Regions from separate parts of the Homo sapiens genome. Here region 2 is linked to region 1. The links are contacts of gene promoters, found by promoter capture Hi-C in blood cells and fetal thymus (Javierre and others, 2016). All regions are on one chromosome and are shown on one strand. Each heading gives the region's core, a stretch centred on a gene start or on the middle of the fragment in contact. The rest is flanking DNA. Distances are from core to core; before and after follow the strand shown. Region 1 holds the start of ORC1 (origin recognition complex subunit 1). Region 2 overlaps SHISAL2A (shisa like 2A).

The links. Contacts are between HindIII fragments. The CHiCAGO score rates a contact against its expected background, and 5 or more counts as called.
Region 2: a contact is called between a fragment that was not itself captured here and the fragment with the promoter of ORC1 in region 1, in 2 of 17 cell types (endothelial precursors and naive CD4 T cells). The highest score is 6.0, in endothelial precursors.

The regions. Positions count from the first base shown.
Region 1 is chr1:52,401,378-52,406,659 of GRCh38, forward strand. ORC1 (origin recognition complex subunit 1) reads right to left here and starts at 3,046. Exons shown (of 17, transcript NM_004153.4): 1 at 2,869-3,046; 2 at 752-851; 3 at 1-112. The coding sequence starts at 846. PRPF38A (pre-mRNA processing factor 38A) reads left to right here and starts at 3,225. Exons shown (of 10, transcript NM_032864.4): 1 at 3,225-3,502; 2 at 4,303-4,462. The coding sequence starts at 3,373. RefSeq lists an enhancer at 2,545-3,744. The HindIII fragment of the contact is 1,229 bases long and covers 2,879-4,107 here.
Region 2 is chr1:52,653,616-52,658,541 of GRCh38, forward strand. It overlaps SHISAL2A (shisa like 2A), which reads left to right. Exons shown (of 3, transcript NM_001042693.3): 3 at 3,175-3,450. The coding sequence ends at 3,425. Among named protein-coding and RNA genes, the nearest start is that of SHISAL2A, 23 kb to the left of the region's middle. The HindIII fragment of the contact is 571 bases long and covers 2,160-2,730 here.

The DNA.
Region 1 (5,282 bases), core at 1,796-4,295:
AAGCAATTTAGCAACATACGGGTTTTCATCATCATCCCCTTCAATCAACACAAACTGTCCAATCTGGATGTGAATCTCGGTGGAACAACCTTCTGTTTTCACACACATTTCTCTAGGAAGTAACAGAGAAGCACATTAGGAAATAACTTAAAGTGGGTCAAGCTCTTCAGATCCCCTGGGCACAAAGGAGAGGGCTCTCCAATCCTGATTTCTTTCTGCTGACCAACTCTCCTACTGGGAAACCAATTCGCCCAGTTATATTTAAGAATAGGCAAAATGGGTTGAATGAATTGTTTTAGCTGAGTAATGAATCCAAAGGTCTTATTAGGAACCCTAATTCCTCTCAGTTATTGACAAAGAACAACAAATGCTTCCCACAACAAATGTTTCCCAAGGCTGTCAAGCTGCCCAGTAACAATGTCAAATTGTCAGAGATCTCCAGGGCTGGGAAAGACATAGTAAAAACATCTATCATCTCGTTTTCATCAAAAGTTATATAGAACTCACCTTAAATAGACATGACATTATCCTACATACAAAATTTTATGAGCCTGCCATAATTTTGCTCCATCACTAACTGCTATATTTATCCCACCATCTTCTTGCATCAAACAAAACCCTCCTTACAATCAGTTCTAATCTCCTGTTCATTCATGGTCAATCTGTAGTAATTAGAACAGGCTAGATACAAGTTGACTGTTTAGCTTGAGAAGCTGTATTTCCAGGACAACCAAAGGACCCCATCACTCACCTATAGGTTTGGTAGTGCAGTTTTCGATCCAACAAGGGCCTGCCAACCCATGAATAAGTTTTTCTGGTCTTCAGCCTTGTGGGGTAGTGTGCCATGGCTTCTGTGGAAGAGTCCAAACTCTGAGTTACCATGATAAATATTTGGTATTTATCTGATGGATTCTAAGACATAGTCAGTCCCTCCCTTCAAATGAGATCAGACTTATTTTCTGCCCCTGCTACACTCCCATACATTTTAGACTAAGAAAACATTTTATTTGAAGTCATGGTCTACGAAGATTACACACAGGCAATTTAGTATCATCTGTGTCCATCTTGTACTATGCCGTATCTCTTTCCATCCAGGAAAACAGAAAGGTCAATTCCTAAGAAATGAAACTGTAACATTTAGAAATACTAGGAATAAGGCAGAACAATAGGTGTAAAACATCTAACAAAGTGAAATTAAAAGACAGTGATACAGGGGTTGTAAATGTCTTCATGACGCTTATAAAATGCACACAAGGATAAAACAGAAATACAAAGGCTGGGCGCAGTGGCTCACGCCTGTAATCCCAGCATTTTGAGAGGCTGAGGTGGGTGGATCACCTGAGGTCAGGAGTTCGGGACCAGCCTGGCCAACATGGTGAAACCCCGTCTCTACTAAAAATACAAAAATCAGGTGGGCATGGTGGCAGGCAAATCACTTGAACCCGGGAGGTGGAGGCTGCAGTGAGCCGAGATCGCAACACTGCACTCTAGTCTGGGTGACAGAGCAGAACTCTGTCTCAAAATAAAAAAAAGAAAAGTAGATGTTATTATCACTTCAAGGTGATAACTTATCCTATCTTATACAGGATGGCACAGCCTTAACTCAAACCCGGAAAAGCCAGACTGCAATTACTGTGCTCTTAACTACTTCACCTTACAACACACTGTGTGAAACTGGATAATGTTAATATGTAACTGAGAGCTTGCTTTTGGTGTACTTATTACAATAAATCAGGCTTCCCAGCCACTGACTGAACATTGTGGATTGGGCCTCAATTTGCTTACCCACAAAATGGAGAAAATAGAATCTTCCGTTTATTCAACCAATATTTATTAAGTACCCATCGTGTGCCAGGCACTATTTTAGGATAATGGAAGATTAAGTGAAAAAATGCAAAATGGTAAATCCACTTTCCCACTACCTTAATCCCTTGCATTTATTTGTAAGGTACAGTGGTTTTATTTATTAAGTATCATTTGATGAATACTATGGAACTAACATAATTCAAGCAAAATTTTGCATTCAATTTCGGCAGATTCACAAACCTCCTAAAGTCCACATATTGCCCTCCATTAAAGTTAAAAACTGTTGCAAAGGGACTTAAACCATTCTGTCATATTGGAAACTCCTTTGGCATTTCCAGCCCACCTAACACAGCAGAGACGAGGGTACTATTATTCATGTGTTACAGACAACTAGAATCGTATATAATCATTGCAGTTTCACAAATAGATCAGGATAAGAATGCCTTTTCCAACTGTCACAGCAGAAGACTCTTCAATTCCGGGGTTAGAAAAGAGAAGTAGGAAGGGGGCCACCAGACTTCTCTTCTGAAAAGAAGGTGAATGACAGACAGCCCAGCAGTTAGGAGCTCATCTGAAAAAAAGATCTGGGTAGGAGCCCAGACTGCTTAGTCACGAAAAGCGACCTAAGACACGTCCCTCCCTGGGCGCAATTTACGTCCGTAAAATGGGGTAATAACCTCTGCTCCGCCTTCCCTGTAGTGGTTCCTACACTATAGCTCAAAGAACGAAACAAGTAGAGTGCTTTACAAATGCAGATGGAGGGAAAGTCATCACTGAGCATCAGGGTGCGGAGGGCAGGAATGCTCCTGCTTCTAGGCTGTTGGCTTCCGCCTTCCCCCCTGCAAACTCAGTTCCCTGCAGCGCGGGAAGCCTTTTAGGAATCGGAGTGTGGAACAGAGGAACGCTCTTAACAGTTCAGAACAGTGCCTGGCACTGAACAGGCGCTTGGTACATGTCAGCTAAAAGAATCAATGACTGAGTCTACAGAGAACGTCCTCAGTTTCAGAGGTTCCGATGCGCCCTCCCCCGAGTCCCTCGCAGCCCGCTGGACGCCACACTCACCCGGCTCCAAAGCTTCCTCCGGCTAGCCGCAAGCCCTCCGTTTCCTACCGCCTCCACTTCGAGAGCTCCGGGGGATGCGGCACCTCTAACCTGCACCAGCAGGGCTCCTTCTACAACTACGGGCCGAAAGCCAGGACCAAAGCGTGTGTCTCACTAGAAATGAAAAGAAGGTGGAAGGAGAAAAGAAAACTTCGCGCCAATCGGCGTGGCCCCGCCCCCAGACCGTCCCTTCGTTGCGACACCAACTAGCTCGCCCCGCCCACTCCGTACACCTAAGAGGGGCGCATGACGTACATCCGCTAACATGCAGCCGCCATCATTGATTCGATAGGCGACGCGGGGAGCGGAAGCCCTTTACACTACGGTGTTTCCGGCTTCAAGATGGTCGCCTAAGCTGTTTAGTGAAACTTCTTCCACCTTTCTCCATTCCTCTAGGTGCTTTTTCTGAACCTGGATGTGAGGCATTAAAGGATCCGACGGAAATAGAATTGAAGGCATTCTAAAATGGCTAACCGTACAGTGAAGGATGCGCACAGCATCCATGGCACCAACCCTCAATATCTGGTGGAGAAGATCATTCGAACGCGAATCTATGAGTCCAAGTACTGGAAAGAGGAGTGCTTTGGACTTACAGGTAAGTGGAAGCGCGCGGAGCGCCTCTCAGCCCCCTTGTGGCCCATTTCTCCTGACCGAGCGCGGGTAGGACTAGCGACTGGCCTCTGGGGGTGGTACTGGAACGGAGTATGTCGATCATTCAGAAAAATTTTGAGTGCCTGCTAAGTGCCTCGTCTTGTGTTGAGTATTAGAGGCACAGATGAATCTGGTAAGGTCATATTCTGAAGGCTGTCTCAGTTGGGTGTTGTGAGTTATTCCGTATTTAATGATAGCAGGCTGGGTTGCAACAGTGTTAAGCTCAGGGATCCGGATATAACACTTTGACACAATCTGTTGAAGGTCTTTAAGGACCTAACGTTAATATGCCTGAAACCAAATTCATGATCTTACTATTCTTAGATCTGGGCCGGTTCCAGTATTTATAAATATCAGTGCTTCAGAGAAGTCTTCCAGGTAATCTTCCGATTTGAATTGTGGCTTTAAATCCATGTCCTGTGACAATCTGTGGACCTTGAGCAAGTCACTTTACCTTTCTTAGCCCTCATTTTCCTTACCTGGAAATAAGAACATTGCTAGAACTTTCTTCATGACTTGTTAAAAAAGGTTAAGTGAGATAATATGAAAAGCTTAGCAGGGTACCTATTTTATTATCCATTCTCAATGTATATTAGCTGTTGTCGTTACTGTTATTAATACACATTCGTTCTCCTAATATTACACTGTTGATGTATATTTAGGAGAACCAAAGCTTGAACTAACTCCACTCCAACTAGGAAGAGCTTAGCCCTAATATGTTACTGTATTGTTTTTGTTTTTTAGCTGAACTTGTAGTCGATAAAGCCATGGAGTTAAGGTTTGTGGGTGGCGTCTATGGTGGCAACATAAAACCAACACCCTTTCTGTGTTTAACCTTGAAGATGCTTCAAATTCAACCCGAGAAGGATATCATTGTAGAGTTTATCAAAAATGAAGATTTCAAGTGAGTGCAATGTTCACTAGCTAATATAAGAGGTTTAATTTTGGCGGTTTAGAATTGGGCTTTGGTTAAGAGGGGTGTACACAATGTATCTCATTTCTAGAGAGTTCCACTCCAGATTTTTGCTTTTGAGCCCTTGAGTTTGTATTTTTTGTTTGTTTTTTGTTTTGGAAACAGAGTCTCTCTGTGTTGCCCAGGCTGGAGTGCAGTGGTGCGATCTCGGCCCACTGCAACCCCCATTTCCTGGGTTCAAGTGATTCTCCTGTCTCAGCCTCCCGAGTAGCTGGGATTACAGGCATGTGCCATCACGCCTGGCTAATTTTTGTATTTTTAGTAGAGATGGGGTTTCACCATGTTGGCCAGGCTGGTCTCGAACTCCAGACTTCAGGTAATCCCCTCCCCCCCCGGGCCTCCCAGAGTGCTGGGATTACAGGCATGAGCCACCACACCCTGCCAAGTTTGTATTTTATCTGTTCTGATTGTATTAATCTTCTACTTTACTTTCTCAGTTTTGGTAATTTTTCCCTGAAAAAGGATTTCACAGATTCACTAAATACATATTAAGCAAAAGTGAGTGCCTGATATGTTGGTAGGCACTGGACGCTCAGGGGTGAAAATCAAACAACAAAAGGTGGTGGTTAAGAGGTGTAAGATCTGGGTTCACATCCAGATTCTGTTGCCCATTAACTATGACATTGGAGAGGTTACTTAATTTTCTAAACTTTGCTTATCTGTAAAATGGTGACTATAATATAAGAGTGAAAGAACGTAATGCATGCAGATCTCTGAACACAGCACTTGCTGCATGGTAAACACCTAGAAA
Region 2 (4,926 bases), core at 1,195-3,694, 250 kb after region 1:
ATAACCAACCAAACAAAAAAAAAACTACAAAATGCTGATGAAGGAAATCAAAGAAGACCTAAAATGGAGAAATACACTATGTTCATGAATTGCAAAACTCAACATAGTAAACATAAAAATTGCAACCCGCCCTTTTTTTTTGAGACAGGGCCTTGCTCTGTTACCCAGGCTGGAGTACAATGGCACAATCTAGCCTCAACTTCCTGGGCTCAAGTGACCCTCCCACCTCAGCCTCCCAAGGAGCTCAATGGAAAAGAATTCACAGAAAATTAGGCCAGTCGTATTTTCTGTTCCATTTTATGAAGTAGTAACCGAGATCCAGAGAAGAGAAGGGTTTGGCACAAAGTAGCACAACGTTTAATACCAGAATGAGGACTTGAGCCAAGGTCTTGTAACTTCTGGAAGGCTTGGCTGGCAGCTGCTCAGACCCCCACAATTGGAGAGGGATCACCACACCCTGTTAATTTTTTATTTTTGTAGAGATGGGTTCTTGCTATGTTGCCCAGGCTGGTTTTGAACTCCTGGGCTCAAGCAATTCTCCCTTCTTGGCCTCTCAAAGTGTGGGGATTACAAGTGTGAGCCACTGTGCCTGGCCAAAATGGCAGTTTTATAGATAGATAGATAGATAGATAGATAGATAGATAGACAGATAGATAGATAGATAGATAAGCTAATTCTCAAATTTATATATAGAGAGACAAAGGAACTAGAATAGCTAAAGTAATACTGAAAAAGAATAATGAAGTTGGAGGAAATCACACTACTCAATTTTAAGACTTATTGTATAGCAACAATAATAAACAGTAAGGAGGATAGTGTGGTATTGGAGGAGGGACAGACACATGCATAGATCAAAATATGGTCCAGAAGTAGACTGACATCATAAGGTTGTCCAACAGATTTTTGATGAAGGTGCAAAATCAATTCAACTGGGGAAGATAGTCTTTTCAATAAATGGTGTTAAAACAACTAAACTTCCATAAGTAAAAAATAAACCTTTACCTAGATCTCACACCTTGTACAAAAATTATCTCAAAAAAGATCTAAATGTAAACCAAAAAACTCTAACACTTTTAGAAGAAAACAGGGAAAAATCTTCATGACATGCGGTTATGCAAAGAATTCTTAAACAAGACATCAAAAGCACAATACATTTTAAAAAAGATAAGCCAGTATTCATCAAAGTTCAAAATTTTAATGCTGTGAAAGATCCTGTTAAGAGGATGAAAAGGCAAGCCTCAGACTGGAGAATATATTCACATATTTGACAAAATATATAAGGATTGGTCGGGTGTGGTGGCTCATGCCTGTAATCCCAGCACTTTGGGAGGCCCAGGTGGGTGGATCACTTGAGGTCAGGAGTTCAAGACAAGCCTGGCTGACATGGCGAAACCCCGTCTCTACTAAAAATACAAAAAGAATTAGCCAGGTCTTGTGGCACAAGCCTGTAATCCCAGCTACTCAGGAGGCTGAGGCAGGAGAATCACTTGAACCCAGGAAATGGAGGTTGTGGTGAGCTGAGATCACGCCACTGCACTCCAGCCTGGGTGACAGAGTGATATGTCTCAATAAATGAATAAATAAATAAATAAAACAAAATATATAAAGAACACCCTAAACTCAACATTAAGAAAACAAATGATCCCATTAGAAAATGAGCAGAAGACTTGAACAGACACTTCATTAAAGACAAACAGAGAACAATCTATGTTTTAAAATGTCCAGGCATGGTGGCTCAGGCCTGTAACCCCAGCAACTTGGGAAGCCAAGGCAGGAGGATAACTTGAGCCCAGGACTTCAGGATAGCCTGGGAAATATAATGAGACCCTGTATCTACAAAAAAAAAAAAAAAAAAAAAAAAAAAGGTGGATGTGGTGGTGCACACCTATAGACCTAGCTACTCAGGAGGCTGAGGTGGGAAGATCACCTGAGCCCAGGAGGTCAAGGCTGTAGTGCGCCATGTTCAAGCCACTGCACTCCAGTCTTGGCAACAGTGCAAGACCCTATCTCAAAATAAAATAATGTTTTTGAAAAAGGATATATAGGTGGCAAATAGGCACATGAAAATATGTTCAACTTCATTAGTCATTAAGGAAATGCAGATTAAAGCCACAATGAGATGCCATCTCAAGGAGCACAGGTAATGGAAAGAGATTGAAAGCTTTCAGAAAGAATAGTACATAGACTCACTTGATCTTAGAAAGATCTTAGATCTCTCTGGCTACAGCATGGAGGACGTGATGGAGGGGCCCCCACTGGAGGCCGTTCCAGGGGTCTGGGCAGAAGAAGATGAAAGCCTGATCTAAGGTGGTAGCCTTGAGGATGGAGAGAAATGGGTGGATACCACAGATGACTATTAGGTGGAACCAGCAGGACCTGGCTTTGTGAAAGGGCCGAGGTAGAAGGTGTGAGAGATGACTCGAATTTTTGGCTTAAACACTTGATACATTTTTTTATCTAGAAAGACAGAAATGTTCAATTGTGTCAAATGCTCCTGATTAAAAAAAGAAAAAGGAAAAAAGAATCAGAGTCCTATAACTGGTAAAGTAAAATTTAAAATAAATAAATAATGTTAAATGTTCCTGATAAGGGAGATAAGGATTTAGAAGTGACTATGGGTTTAGTGACAAATAGTTTGAAGGTATAGTGGGGGCAGAACAAAGTAAGTTGCAGCTGAACAAGTCATGAATGGAAGGTAGAGAATAATAAGGCCAAGTGGACTTCCTTTCAAGCTTTGATTTAAGAGGAAGAGAGAAGATAAGTCACTCAGCAAAGAGAAGCATGGAATCTATTCTCAAAGCGAGAACAATCTATGTTTTAAAAATGTCCACCACTCTTCTCCATACTAGCTGTATGGTAATCCTGTGTTCTCATCTATAAAATGGATTTCTAATAGTACCTACCTCATAGGGTTATGGTGAAGGTCAAGTCTTCATAGCTCTTAACAATTGTTTCTTATCTGTTTCCTCCACCAAACTACAAGTTCATGAGCAACACTGACAGCTCTCAGTGCATAATGTGGTGTATTGTTAATAAATACATGTTAAACAAATGATGCTTCTAAGGCTCTGACCACAGTGCACTGCCCAAGGTAAGCACCAGAGAAGTCAGCTGGGGAGTGTGATCCTGTTGGGGAAGAAGAGAGCCACACACCCTCAGTTTGCTGTTTTCCAGGCCCTGAGGAGGTTTCTCCTGACTGCCAAGGTGTGAACACAGGCATGGCGGCAGAAGTGCCAAAAGTGAGCCCTCTCCAGCAGAGTTACTCCTGCTTGAACCCGCAGCTGGAGAGCAATGAGGGGCAGGCTGTGAACTCCAAACGCCTCCTCCATCATTGCTTCATGGCCACAGTGACCACCAGTGACATTCCAGGCAGCCCTGAGGAAGCCTCTGTACCCAACCCTGACCTATGTGGACCAGTCCCATAAACATTCAATAAATGTCTCCATACCATCCCCTTCTGGAGTCTCTTCAGTGAAAGGTGGGAGTGGGAAAGGACTTTAGAGCCTAGCATGATAAATGAGGGCTTCTCCCAGCAAAGATACCCAGCCCTGCTGTGGACCCTGCCATACTGTTCTGCTTGGCCTATTGTGGGCCAAAGAACTTTGACATGACTCCTAGGAAAAATGGTCAGTAACAACTCCATGCAATCGGGTGGAAGCCTGGGGCCTGTGAAGGCACAGAGGAGCCCCTCACCCAACTGGGAAGTCAGAGAACTCTGACATGGTTTTCCTGCCCCACAGTAGGTGTATTTAGGAGCCCCTGAGAAGATGATTAGCCCTCAGAGGGGGATGATCTCTGCCTCTTCAGCAGCTCTGCCTCACCCTGGAGTGCGCCATCCTGGAGTAAGCCCCTTGCAGAGGGACGGATAGAGAGGGAGTATGTTGTGCACAGGGCTCAGGCGTCATTCTATTTCTTAGGTAGATGAAGGAGTGAGTGCTAAGTGAGAGAATGAATAGGGGCAGGGCGCGGCAGTTCACGCCTGTAGTCCTAGAGCTTTGGGAGGACAAGGTGGATGGATCACTTGAGCCCACTTATTCAAGACCAGCTTGGGCAACACAGTGAGACCCAGACTCTACAAAAAATTTAAAAATTAGCCACATGTGGTGGCTTATACCTGTAGTTGCAGCTACTTGGGAGGCTGAAGCAGGAGAATCAGTTGAGCCCTGGAGGTCGAGGCTGCAGTGAGCTATGATCACACCACTGCACTCCAGCCTGGGCAAGACCTCATCACAAAAAAAGAAGAAGAATGAATGAATGAATGAATGGTTATCAGACTGAATACAGGCTCCAGAGGGTGGACTCTGCCACTGTGTGGCCTTGATAAAGTCCCTTGTCTTCCTGAGCCTCAGTCCCCTTGCTGGGTTATTGCAAGTGTTCAATGAGGTGATGGATTTGAACTCACTTCGTAAACATTAAATTACTAGAAGACTTTTTTTTTTTTTGAGACGGAGTTTTGCTCTGTCACTTAGGCTAGAGTGCAATGGCATGATCTCAGCTCAGTGCAACCTCCGCCTTCCGGGTTCAAGTGATCCTCCCACCTCAGCCTCCCAAGTAATTGGGACTACAGGTGTGTGCCACCATGCCTGGCTAATTTTTGTATTTTTAGTGGAGACGGGGTTTCACCATGTTGGCCAGGCTGGTCTTGAACTCCTGACCTCAAGTGATCCGCCTGCCTTGGCCTCCCAAAGTGCTGGGATTACAGATGTGAGCCACCACACCTGGCCTGTTAAAAGACTTTTTAAATGACCAATGGATGATAACATAGTATTCCTGCTAAAAGACTTTTTAAATTACAAATGGACAATAACAGTAAACTATGTAATACTGAACAACTCTGGAGCCAAATGCCTGGTTAAAATCCTGCCCCTGTCACTTACTTGCTAGGTAACCTCTGTGCCTCAGTCCTCTCATCTATATAAGCTGGAA